2 separate regions of the Homo sapiens genome follow, and region 2 is linked to region 1. The links are contacts of gene promoters, found by promoter capture Hi-C in blood cells and fetal thymus (Javierre and others, 2016). All regions are on one chromosome and are shown on one strand. The core of a region is centred on a gene start or on the middle of the fragment in contact, and the rest is flanking DNA. Distances in the headings are between cores, read along the strand shown. Region 1 holds the start of EN2 (engrailed homeobox 2). Region 2 overlaps PAXIP1 (PAX interacting protein 1).

Region 1 (6,314 bases), core at 1,260-3,759:
CTTCCCCAGAACTCTACCCCCAAACTCTTCTGGTCCTGGGGCTCTTGTTAATGCACTCATGAAGCAGCCCGCAAAAGGACACCATTTTATGGCAATAAATTTCCCTAAAATAATAATTTTTAGGTTTTTTTCTTGATTTTCTTTCAAAAGACAAATACTTAGGAGTCTCAGAAACAGAATCAAACCTCCCCAAGAAAACTCTCTCTCCCCTTTCTTTCGGAGAAACCAAAGAACAGAAACATTATCTTGCAGGGATATTTTAAAGCCCATGAAGATAGGCGACTTGGGCTGGGCTGAGCTGGGCCGGGCCAGGCCGGGCCGGGCGGTGCTGCCCAGCTCCCGGGCCGTTGGGGGCTGGCTCAGCGAACTCCCGCGCCGCACAAAGCCCGGCCGAGTCTCCTCGCCCGGCATTGTGAGCCTGTATGTTAATTAAATATTAACAAAGGAGGAAGACGAGAACAATGGAGCAAATTTCAGATCTAGCTGAGAAATCTGAATTTCATCAGAAATATGCACGCATAGTTCTGCGGGATGGCGGCCCAAGGGTTGGCTCACTCCTGCTGTGATCTGGGCAAATGACCCCCGCAAAATAGTTGAGGGTTTGGGGGCAGCGGGGATCCGCTGCCAGCTCGGGGTCAAACAGTCCACTTCTAATGGCGGTTCCCAGCCGCAGACCCGCATGGAATGCAGTTGATGATTTCTACAAGGACATGGACTTAGTTTTTTAAAATCGCAGATCTATGAAAAAATATATCCAGCATCTCTGCAGGGCCCCTGCGAATGCTGCCTCTTTCCCATCAGCAGCCCCCAGGAAACCCTGAGAGAAGGTCCTTTCTATTTGGGGATGGCAGGTGCCGGGAGGGACGGCTGCCTCCCTTGTCCTCGCTGTGTGCAGGAAGGGGGCTGAGCCCCACCACTGCGGGCTGGCGCTGGCAAACAAAGTGGAGCCAAGGGGAAAGGGCGCCTTTATTTTCCTCCTTCCCTGTGTGCATCCTCCTGAGTCCCACCGGTCAGCGCAGGCCCGAGGGGCAGAAGGCAGAGCGGCAAAGGGCCTCGCCTTTTCTTCCCCGAGCACAGCCGGGATAACCGGATGGTAGGACAAGTCTGGGGTGGGCTGGGGCATGCGTCCCCGGCCTGGCCTGAGTTGGAAGATCGTAGGGAAGGGGATGAGAGTGTGCACTTCCGGGCCCATCTTCCAGCCACCACGTTCCCACCAAAAAAAACTACAGTGGGGGAGACATGGGCTAGGGGCTGGGAAGAGATGCGCCAAGGCGGGGTGGAAGACAGAGAGGGGAGACAGGGAGAGAGGAAGGAGAGAGAGAGACAGAGAAAGAAAGAAGGTCCCTTCTGCGGTCCTAAGAAGTCTGTACCCCCTAGCGAATCAGTCCTGCCGCTGGACTCCTGGCCGCTGCCCGGGCCGGCGTCAGCTTCACACAATGTCGCGTGAGTCTTTGTGCGTGTGCGCGGGGGAGGTTCGAGATGTTTTCCTCCCGGTAAGTTCCCGCGCCAGCACCGCCCCCCAGCTCCGCGGGCCTCCCCGCGGCGAGCCGGGACGCGTGGTCCCCGCGGGCTCACCTGAAGAAGGCCGGTCCGAGTAGCGCGTACAGTAGACCCACGCCGGCCAGAGCATGGGCTGCGCGCCCAGGTTGGCGCCGGCTTGCGAGCTGTCCGAGTCCGAGCTCACCGACAGGTCGCCGCCGCCCAAGCCGCGGGCCTTGAGCGACCCGTCCAGGGGGCCGCCGGGGTCGCCGCCTTTCTTGGCGCCACCGTGCAGCGAGAGCGTCTTGGAGCCGCCTTCCCCGTCACCCGGAGAGTCGCTGCCGGCGGCTGGGAGCGGCCCGCCCGCGCCGGGCGCACATGGCGGGTTCTGCCGGGGCTCTCGGGAGCCCGAGCCCAAGAGCTGCTCCGAGCCGCCCGCGCCGCCGCCTCCCTCCGCACCGCTCGCGCCGCCTTCGCCGCCGGCTCCGCCGCCCCTTCCTCCTCCCGCGCCCGCACAGCAGGTCCCCGCGTCCTTTCGCCGGCCGAACTCGGGCCGCAGGATGTTGTCGATGAAGAAGTTGGTGATGCGGTGCGGGTGCTGGTGGTTGCCGGGCGCCTGCAGGACCGCGGGCAGCATCAGAGCCCGCCGGCGCCCGGTGTCCGCTTCGCCCGGGCTGCTACCGCCGCCGCCGCCCGAGCCGCCGCCGGGGCTGGATTCCGGCTGCCGCTGTCCCTCCACCGCCGCCGCTGCTTCGCCAGGCTTGGGGTCATTCTCCTCCATGCTGTTCACAGTAAATCCCACACTGGTTCTCCGGGGACGCCCTTCCAAATCAGCCTTCGGCCCTCCCGCGGCGCACACGGAGACCCCCGCGCCCCCACCCCGCCGAGTCTTCCGAGGGCGTGCGCGGCGGCCGCGGCCAGGGCTGAGGTCCTACAAGTCGCCGGCCGCGCTCGGCGCGGAGCCACCTTTGAATCCACGAACTGGGTTAGAAACACCACGAGCCGCCCCGCTCGCCCAGACGATGAGAGATTCAACAGAGCCAAGTCCTCGACTTCGCCGCGCAGCCGGGGTCTAGACAGTCGCAGTGGTCCGGCGGGGACGCGGGCCGCCTCCCGGGCTCCCCGCTCCTCTCCGCGTCCGGCCGCCTCGGGCTCCGGCGCCGCCGCCTGGGCCGCCCGGGGCGAGAGCTGCGCGCATGCAGGCAGCGCGTTCCCCGGCGCTCACGCCCGCCCGGGCCGGCTCCGGCCGCCGCCGCCGCCCGGCCGTCCCCGCCCGCACGCCCTAGCCGGCCCTCGAGGGTGCCGGGCGCCCGCGGTCAGCGCGCCCGCCACCGCCCGCACGCACATGGAGGCCCCCTCCTCGCGGCCGCCGCCCCGCTGCGGGCCGGGGCGCCCCACCGGCGTGCGGCCGCGCCCCCGCCGAGCCCCGCAGAGCTCCGCGGCCCGAGTCGCATGGGTGAGAGACGCGAGGCCAGGGCCCGGCCGGGCCGGGCTGGGCCGCCCGCGCTCCCCGGCCGTCCGCCGCCCTCGCCGCCTCGGCCTCCGCGCGGGCTCGGAAATTTCCAGGCCACTCGGCGCAACCTGAGACACTTTCACTCTGGATTTTTGTTCTTATTTTTAACAGAGCCCCCTCGAGTGACGTCGCAGGCCGGTCTCCTGGACACGTGCCTCGGGCCAATGGCCGCGGCGCCGCGCGCCCACGTGACGCTCCGGCCGCCGCTGGGTGACAGGAGCAGCCCGCCGCCCCTCCTCCCCTTAAAGCGGCCGCGTCCCCCGCTCCGGGTGCGGGAGCCCAGGAACCCGGAGAGACCCCCGACCGCGTCTCCTGCGCTCGCCCGCGCTTTCCCTGTCGCTTCGCGGTTCAGGGGTGTGAGTCACCCGGCGACAGCCCCGCCAGGTCACCCCGGGGCGCGTAGGTGGACACGCACAGGAAGATCGCTATTTTTAAGATTTCCATATTGTTTACCGTGGGGCGAAATCCCACAATTCCTTGCACAAAATGCATAAATAATATTAAATGAGCTGCCGAGATACAAAGGGACTTTTGTGGTCCGCTTTCCTTGCTGATGGAGAGGAATAGTGTCACTCCCATTTGACTCGGTAACCCGGCAGCTTCCTGTCTTAAACGCAGAGCTGGCGCGCAGGACACTCCTCCTGCAGACACTTATTGTAAGTGTGCGTGTGTGTGCGTGTGCAGGGAGGCGCGTGCATACGGCCGCATTCCACCCGGGGACAGCGACCCTCATGAAACATGCTTAGCGATCCGAAAGAGCGGGGGAATGCAGTATGCGGCTCCATTTGCGAAGGGAGAAATCCAGGAGCCTCGGAGGTTCTAAAGGAATCCTTTTTGCCAAGGAGAGGAGGGGTGACTGTTCAGCTAAGACTTCAAAACCAAGTCGCCCGCCCCCCTCTAACTTCTCTACTCTGATTGAGGAGCTCCCAGACCGGTCATCTCGTTTTCTTTGTTTTAAAATCCTTTAAACTAATTTTGCCGGAGAGCAGGGCCCATTTGAAACGAGAATTAGGAATCCAACGGCAAGGGTGGGAGCCCCAGTTGGTTTCTCCCCTCCTCTCTCTTCATCTTTTCTAGACTTTCCTTCCAGCTGTTGTCAGAATGTCCAACTGGAAGTTCTGTTTCCTCTTCTCTTCCCCCTCCTCCCTCGGGCTCCTTCCCATTTGCTCTTGTCTACCCACCAAACACCCGTTGTTACCCCAGGCTCGCCTGTCCATCATTTAAAATGCATTTTTATGGAAATGTGTGAATTCCTGGAAACATCCGATAGGGCAGCTCTGGGGGTGCGGGAGCATTTGCACGCCATGAGTACCCTCAGTGCGGGGGAGGCGGGGAGGCCGCAGCCTGGCACGGACACCCTAGGGCTGATTGGCCCTGGGCAGCTGCACCGTGCTCAGCAACCCAGACCCCCGCAGAGGCAGCCAGCAGGTTGCTGCCAGGCCCTGAGTGAACTTGGGGAGTCTGGCAAGCATCTCCGAGGCAGCGTGGCCTGCCAGGCCACCTGGGGCCTGAAGGTTGCACCCTGGCCTTGCGAAGCTCCTTCCCCAGTGTCCATCCCACGTGCTGTCCTTCCCCTGCAGGCTTCAGAGTGCTGGCTGGGCTGGGATGAGAAACGACAGTTCCCACAGCTGCTCCCAGGAAAATTACCCCCCCACCCAGGACGGGAATGGTGGGGGAGGAGGTGCTGGGCTGGCCTCCTGGCCACTGGACGTGGCTCTGGTCAGAGTGTGCCCTCTGTCCGGTGTGTCTAGGGCAGGGTGGGGAAGCCTCTTCTCGCTGGGGCTGGATTCCTCCACTTTTTCTTCATTGGAGGAGTCCTTACCAAATGTTCTGGCTAGGCACACATCTGCCAGGGGTCCTCCCCGAGTCTCAAAAAATCAAACCCCACAGTCTACCTGCCCCCCGGGAAAATAGGGCTGGTGAGAGTTTGTGGGAAGTCTTATTGACGCTTACTTGGTTTTTTGGGGGGAGAATTTTCTGCAACTCTGGAAACTCTGATGATCACCAGTCAGGAAAGGGAGGGTCCAACGACTCTGGGTCTCCTGAACATGATATTGGGGGGAGGAGGGGCCCTGAGCTCTTTGGTTCCTGCAAAACCATCCCAGGTTAATGGCTCCACCTGTCCCATGAAAGCCAATTAGGCGGCTTCCTGAGAAGTATTTTCTGAATTCTTGGGACTCTTTGCCTCTGACTGCCTCAGTATAAATGGCCCCAAGACGCTGGGCTTCAGCCCTGTGCTTTCCTGCGACCCAGACCCCAATTCGTGGCTGCAACAGAGACTCTGGGAAGCAGAGCGTCACCTCCAGGGCGCCTGGCGGGCCGGTGGGCAGAGACCTGCCCTCGCAGGGTCTGCGGGCTGGGCCCTGGGGTTGGCTGGAGGAAGAGGAATTCGTGGGTCGCTCTCCTGGAAAGGAGGAAGGTGAGAGGTGGAGGGAGGAATAGGAGAAAGAGAAATAAATGAAGAGAGAGATAACTAGAGGGTACCGGGCCCCCCAGAGTGGACCCAAACACGAAACAACTCTGGGAAAGCGGTAAGAGGGGTCACCGTTCAAAGGGCCGGGGAAGCTGGGATGGGGCTGCAGAAAGTTGAGCTGCCCAGGGGCTGGGCGGTGCTGAGTTCTATACACACGGAACTCCGCAAGGTGTTTCAGGAAGCTTCGAGAAGCGCGCATGAGGACCGGCCTCGGCCGCCTGCCCCAGCTGGGACGGCGCCTCGCGCTTTCTGGGGATGCGGGGCAGTGGCGTGTCTCTCCTCTGCGATGCCAGCCCCGGCTGCCGCGCTCCCGCGAGCCCAGAGCCTCCGCTTTCTCCCCCGAACGACCGCCGCCCTCAAGGTCGGCCTTTCTGTGCGGATCAGACGAGCCCTCTCCGGACATTAGTTTCTCCCGGGATGGAAAGTGGGGCACTGACCCGGGAACCCCGTTTTCCCTCTAGCTTCACCCAGGAATCGGAGAGCGCCCGCGACCACCCGCTTGCGGAGGACGGTCCTCCATATTTCTCAGGCTCGCTGCACAAAGAGGGGCCTCGGAGAGGGCGAGCAGGAAAGCAGCTTCCAGACGCCGTGCGCTTCAGGACACGGACGCTAGTTTTGCAAACAAAACCTCAGTGAAGCGCCCCGGAGACACCGGGCGCCCGGATGCCGAGCCAGGCTCCCGTTTTTATCTGAAAACGAGGCCAGAGAAGGGTGACTTTTCCGGCCCCTCTGCGTCCCCTCCACTCGCCTCGCTTCTCTAGCTTGACGTGGTGACACTTGGAAAAATGGACTCAATGAAAGCCGTTCGCTCGCGGCGGTCTCGTTACTCGCGGGGCAGAGACGCCCAAC
Region 2 (5,900 bases), core at 159-2,658, 520 kb after region 1:
GTATAAGTAGGAGTCAGCTATTTGTGGTGGGGCTTTGGGGATGTCAGCTCTTGGGGGTTGTGTGTTGTACATGTTAATTTAAAGGACATTTCAGCTATTGCTGGGCCTCAGTTCTGGCCGCATGGTGGATACCTTGCGGAGCTGGCACAGGTGCTGATGTCCCCGGGCTGAGTGAGCCTGTGTGTCGGGGCTGAGGGCCTCCTGTGATGTGGGTATGCAGCAGAGCGACTGGTTTGAATGGGTAAGAAAGAGGCTGTAGCATTCCTTCAAGGGTGTCTCTGAAACTGGATGATGAATGTTGGAACCCTTGGTTTCATGTTTTTCTTTTGCCTTGTGTTTGAAAGTCGTTTTCCTCAACAAGCCTACATATAAGTTTAACTGATGGCGTCTAGGCTGCCGTGCATGTCGACTCCTGCGGTGCGGGGCTGGCTGTCTGGCTGGCGAGGAGCTGCTGCGCTTCCTTCACATGCTCTTGTTTTCCAGCTGCTTTCCTGGGGGATCAGACTGTGAAGCAGGAAGACAGATATAATAAATATACTGCATCTTTTTAAGATGTGCAATTTTATTCTGAGGAAACATAAATTATGTTTTGTATTATATGACTTTAAGAGCCCACATTAGGTTTTATGATTCATTTGCCAGGTTTTTAAATGTTTTCACAAAACTGTTACGGGACTTCAACTAGAAATAAAATGGTGTAAATAAAGACCTTGCTATCTCTAAATTATGGATGTTAAAGATTTGAAATGTTTTGTACTTTGATTATTTTTATTTCTTATACTCTGTTTTCTTTTATATTGATATCTTGCCCACATTTTAAATAAATGTACTTTTGAACTTAGAATTGAGTAATCCTTTATTATTCCACATTTTTTGCATAACTTATAATTTGCATCAAACCGGATCACATTTTAAGTAATTTCAAGACAAAATATTTTCCAGTCAATTTTTACCTCAAGAAATAATTTCTAGAAGCCAGCCATTTTTTTTGTCACCGTAATAAACTCCATCCCAGGCAGGGGTGGATTCAGATTATTTTGCAATCACTAAGCACAGGCGCAACCAGTGAGAACCAGTGACGCTACGGAACTTGCATCCATCCTGCTTCTTTCCAGACCCTGTTGCAGTACACGTCTTGTTGGATCATAGGTGTGATAAAATGGTAGGAGACCGCCTGTTTATTAAAGATGAGCAGGGCAGTAACTGCTAATATCTTTAGATCGTGCTGACCAGTGCTGTCGCAGACATTCAGAGCTGTTTTTTAACCAACATTGTGCCTCAAAATATGTCTATTTTTAAGCTTATATTTTTGTGCTTAAATAAACTTAGATACTGACTTATCTTTGAGTAGATGTAGAACTGACCTTTTCCCCTTGTGTACCACAGGTAGAATTGGTGTTGCTATAAAATATTTTAGATTCTGTAGAATCCTGGCAGTGTGGAAGCATTTCATAAATCAGAATAGAGTTTTCATTTGCAAAGTATTCAAAGTACTTCCCTACTACTTAGAAGCTTGAAGGCAAGTGACAATCATTACAGAATAAATGGGCCTTCTGGGTAGAGTATAATGCGTCTGTTTAATCTTTGGTGGAGACAGGGTGTTTATATAACCAACATACAAATATGACTGATTTGATTAACCTTTCAATTAGTGCTTTTTTTTCTAAAGCTGCCAAGAAATGATCCTTAAAAACTCCAGGAGCTGTCTAAAGCCAACTGGCTTGCACAGCTGTTAAGCATTGATTTGGTGACTAAGAGGGACTTAGATGAACATATAAAAATAAAAAGATTTCAAGTAAATACTTCTTAGAAAAAAATGATTAGATCGGACAAATTATTTCTTACATGAAAATCTCATTTAATCCTATTTTCATCTGGCTCGGTGTCATCTAATAGAAATATAATGGGAACAATGTGTAATTTAAACATTTTTAGTAGCTACAATAAATGTTTTAAAATTAGTTTTAATATGTAGACAATACATCCAAATATTGCTTCTGCCAGAAGTAATCAATATTTTTAGAAATTACTGAGATATTTTTACTGTTTGAGGGATGCCAAGTCTTTAAAATCCAGTGTATATTTTACACTTAGACAACATCTCAATTCTGAAATTTTCATTGGAAGTACTTGATCTGTTTAGATTTCACACCACTTAGAGTTGAAAAAGGATATTATGTATGTTTATATACTCAAATTATTCAAAAGATAGTTAAGTGTCTTCCAATAACTGAATTAATGCCAGTTTTGAAGTTAACATAAAGTGCAATTAAAAAATGGAGGTCCTTCCCTTGCACTAGGTACTTTTCCAGCGTGCAGTGACCAGGGGTGGCTGATCATTGAGAAGATGAACAGCTGTCCATCACCGAGCTGCCACCTCAGTATACCCTGAATTCTGTAACACTGGCAAGTAAGAATGGCAAGCAATGTGAATGCCAATGATGAAGACATAGATAATCCATCCAAATCATCCCAAGATTGTTTCTTTGTGTAGGATAATTAAAAGTATCTACCTGATAGCTCACAAAAAGTGTGTTTTTAATCTATCTGCTAGGTATTGAGAGGAAACTTGGAAGAAATACTGCGTATCCTAGCTCTAGGAGTTTAGTCTCATTAGGAAAAGTTAAACAACATATGTCAATCTAGCAAATATTTGGTAATTTAAGGAAATATTTGAATAGTAATAGCTGCACAACTTTATTTTTAAGAAATATTTTAGCATAGAAAGTTAAATGAAGATAATTGTATCCTCAGCTCTTTAAACCTCAGTGCTGCTCCCCATGAAGCTCTCCCAAATTACTTTGTTGAATTAAAAAATAAGTGTGTAATTACGTACTAACTTTGTAGAAAGTTTAGCTACCTCCTGAAATGAACCACATGTGTCCCCGAAGAGTTTCTCTCGCCCACCGCCCAGCCGCTCCATCTCTGAACTTCAGTGTTGCTGGGCTTGCTCCTCAGCCGATTCCACCCTCTAGGGGTGCAGCTAAACACAGGTCACCTCTCCTTATTTCCAAGGTTTGTTCCTCCAACTGCAGAGCTGTTCATATCTACCTCTCCCCACGCTCACTGTGTTCATTTCTTTTCCTCTTGTAAATGTTAGCAAGGTTTTACATTTGTCTCCTTTTCTCCAGTCGCTTTCCTTTCAGGTTGACCTCTGTACTGTTCCAGGAGTAATTTTCCTGAAATAAGATTCTGTTTCTCATATTAATGCTAAAAAGAAAGAGTCCAAGATGAGATGTTTCACATCTTTTTCTTTTTTTTTTTTTTTTTGAGATCGAGTCTCACTCTAGTGCTAGCTGGAGTGCAGTGGCATGATCTTGGCTCACTGCAACTTCCACCTCCCGGGCCCAAGCGATTCTCGTGCCTCAGCCTTCCAAACAGCTGGGACTACAGGTGCGTGCCACCACGGCCAGCATCTTAATCTCTTGTAATGTCACCATCCCACCCCCTTACTCCCATTAGTCACATGGAATCAGTTGTGATTACCCAAGCTTGCCAAACACTTCACAGGCCTCTCTCACTTTATATGCTATCTCTTCCTATTAGAAGAACTCCCATTCCTATCTGGCAAGCTTTCCCCTCATTTAGACTGTAAGGCCTTCCTGATCTTTATAAACATTCTTTCTAGTTTCCTCCTCTTTGTGTCCTCAGCCCTCTCTGATACAATGGAATAGATGTCTTAGAGGTGAGTGGTTACTTGTTCGCACTCTGTTTCTCTCTGCGTTAATGAAGCCTCAGAGACAGATTGAGGCCTTCTTCACCTATGTTATCTGTGGTAGGTGGAATTATAGCCCCCCAAAGATACCCTAGACCAGCAGCCCCTTACCTTTTTGGCACCAGGGAGTGGTTTCATGGAAGATAATTTTCCCATAGATTGGGTAGGGGTTTAGGGTATGTTTCAGGATGAAACTGTTCAACCTCAGATCTTCAGGCATTAGATTCTCATAAGAAGTACGCAACCCAGATGCTTGGCATGTGCAGTTCACAATAGAGTTCGTGCTCCCATGAGAATCTAATGCTGCCAGTCATCTGATACGAGGCAGAGCTCAGGCGGTAATGCTCACTCGCCCACCTCTCAGCTGCTGTGCAGCCCAGTTCCTAATAGGCCGTGGACTCGTACTGGTACGTGACCTGGGGGCTGGGGAATCCCTGTCCTAGACCTAATCCCCAGAACCTGTGGCTTCTATGTTAGCTTAGTGGCAAAAGATACTTTGCAGGTGTGATTAAGGTTGAGGACCTTGAGATGGGGCGATGAGCCTGCATTATCCAGGAAGGCCCAAGCGAGCCATGTGAACCCCTCACAGTGGAAGAGGAAGGCAGAATTATCCAGGAAGGCCCGAGTGAATCACGTGAACCCCTCACAGTGGAAGAGGAAGACAGGAAAGTGGTTTGGAAAATGGGACCTTAGTCCTACAGATGCAAGGAACTAAGAGTGATTTTACTCCAATGAGACTCCACCAGACTTCTGACCTATAGAACTGTAAAACAATAGTTTTTAGTTGTTCTCATTTAAGCCACTAAATTTGTGGCAATTTGTTACAGCAGCAATAGAAAACTGACAGTATCCCAAATTTTTGTAGATTGCTTGGCATTTTATAGGCATTTGCTCAAAATGTGTTGAACTAAAATTATCAGAGGGAAAATAAGGAATAGTTTTAATTTTTTGTGGGGGGAGGGGATATAATAAAAACTATTCCAGAAAGATTAATTTGAAAGTAGACACAGTGAAGGCAGGTAAGTGAACAAAACATGTTGGATTCACCTCTATAAGAAGTAGTAAGACCTGGAATTAGGATAGACTTAGAGAAAAAGGGGGTGTTTCAAAGGAAAACAACATCGCTTTGTTCATGATTTAAACTAAAAATTTTACATTTGGAGAAAAGAAATTAGTGATAATGATATAAACAATGAACTTGGTAAGGCAGCCAGAGAAAATTTTATAGTGAAATTAAGGCTGCAATTTGGGTAAGCATGTAAGCTGAGTTCCGTTACTGGGGAGTTATCATAGTGGCATTAGGTAATTGTAGGTCAACACTCCCTAATTACCCTTTGTACTGCCAAGGACTGGGGCTTGAAGACCAATTCTCAGTGGTCAGTGGAAGATATCAAAGGAATGGTTGACAAGGTGAGATGAGAATTTTGATGGTATGAGACCTCAAGTGTTCAGGGAGACATTTGTATCTCTGGCAATATGGTGGGCAGCTACCTTGACTAGTTATCCTTCTGATAATGAAAAATGGTGACCTTAGATATAGAAAATAAACCCATGAGCTGGCAAAACAGGAGTACTCAGGCCAAGAACTAAGTAAAGATGAAAACTCAGGGACTAGCTAAGCACTGAGGCCATTGCCTTGAGAGCATTTGTCCAAGCAGCTGAACTTGAGTTTCACAGCCTCACTGTGGAGAAGGTAAGTGTTCAGGACCTGCCCAAAGTGAGGAGTGAAATAGAAGATCCTCCTTCCCTAAGACTGGAACCCCAAAGGGCTATGCCCTAGGTATAAATATGAAATAGAAATAAACATAAATCTGCCCCCAACAACCCTGGGAGTCACTGCCAGTCTTGAACCTTAGGGCTGCTGCACTAATTCACAATACGTGGATGGTCCAAAAACCCTTCAACCTCAGAATTTAGGCTAGTAGCACCCTAAAGCAATTGCATAAGGAATTACAAATCCTCCTTGGAGATACCCCCCTCCCCATCTTGGACTAAACACATACTTATCCCACAGAGAAAATAGCAAGGAAGCAAGGCATCATGAACAAAAATGGGCACACACCAGACACAGAAATAGGAAATAGAGCCACATAATTTGGAATTATGAGAGAACACAACAGAGTTAATATCTCCTGAGGCAGGCTTAAAATATTAGCAGGAAATAAGAAACTATGAAGAATGACCC

The links. Contacts are between HindIII fragments. The CHiCAGO score rates a contact against its expected background, and 5 or more counts as called.
Region 2: a contact is called between a fragment that was not itself captured here and the fragment with the promoter of EN2 in region 1, in 1 of 17 cell types (total B cells). The highest score is 6.5, in total B cells.

Annotation. Positions count from the first base shown.
Region 1 is chr7:155,454,324-155,460,637 of GRCh38, reverse strand. It overlaps EN2 (engrailed homeobox 2), which reads right to left and starts at 2,509. Exons shown (of 2, transcript NM_001427.4): 1 at 1,576-2,509. The coding sequence starts at 2,260. It overlaps EN2-DT (EN2 divergent transcript), which reads left to right and starts at 3,520. Exons shown (of 3, transcript NR_186580.1): 1 at 3,520-3,648. RefSeq lists enhancers at 2,856-3,847, 5,771-6,296, 6,297-6,314. The HindIII fragment of the contact is 14,368 bases long and covers 1-5,649 here.
Region 2 is chr7:154,938,631-154,944,530 of GRCh38, reverse strand. PAXIP1 (PAX interacting protein 1) reads left to right here. Exons shown (of 21, transcript NM_007349.4): 21 at 367-841. The coding sequence ends at 382. PAXIP1-AS2 (PAXIP1 antisense RNA 2) reads right to left here. Exons shown (of 8, transcript NR_024476.1): 3 at 1-504. Among named protein-coding and RNA genes, the nearest start is that of PAXIP1-AS2, 13 kb to the right of the region's middle. The HindIII fragment of the contact is 212 bases long and covers 1,303-1,514 here.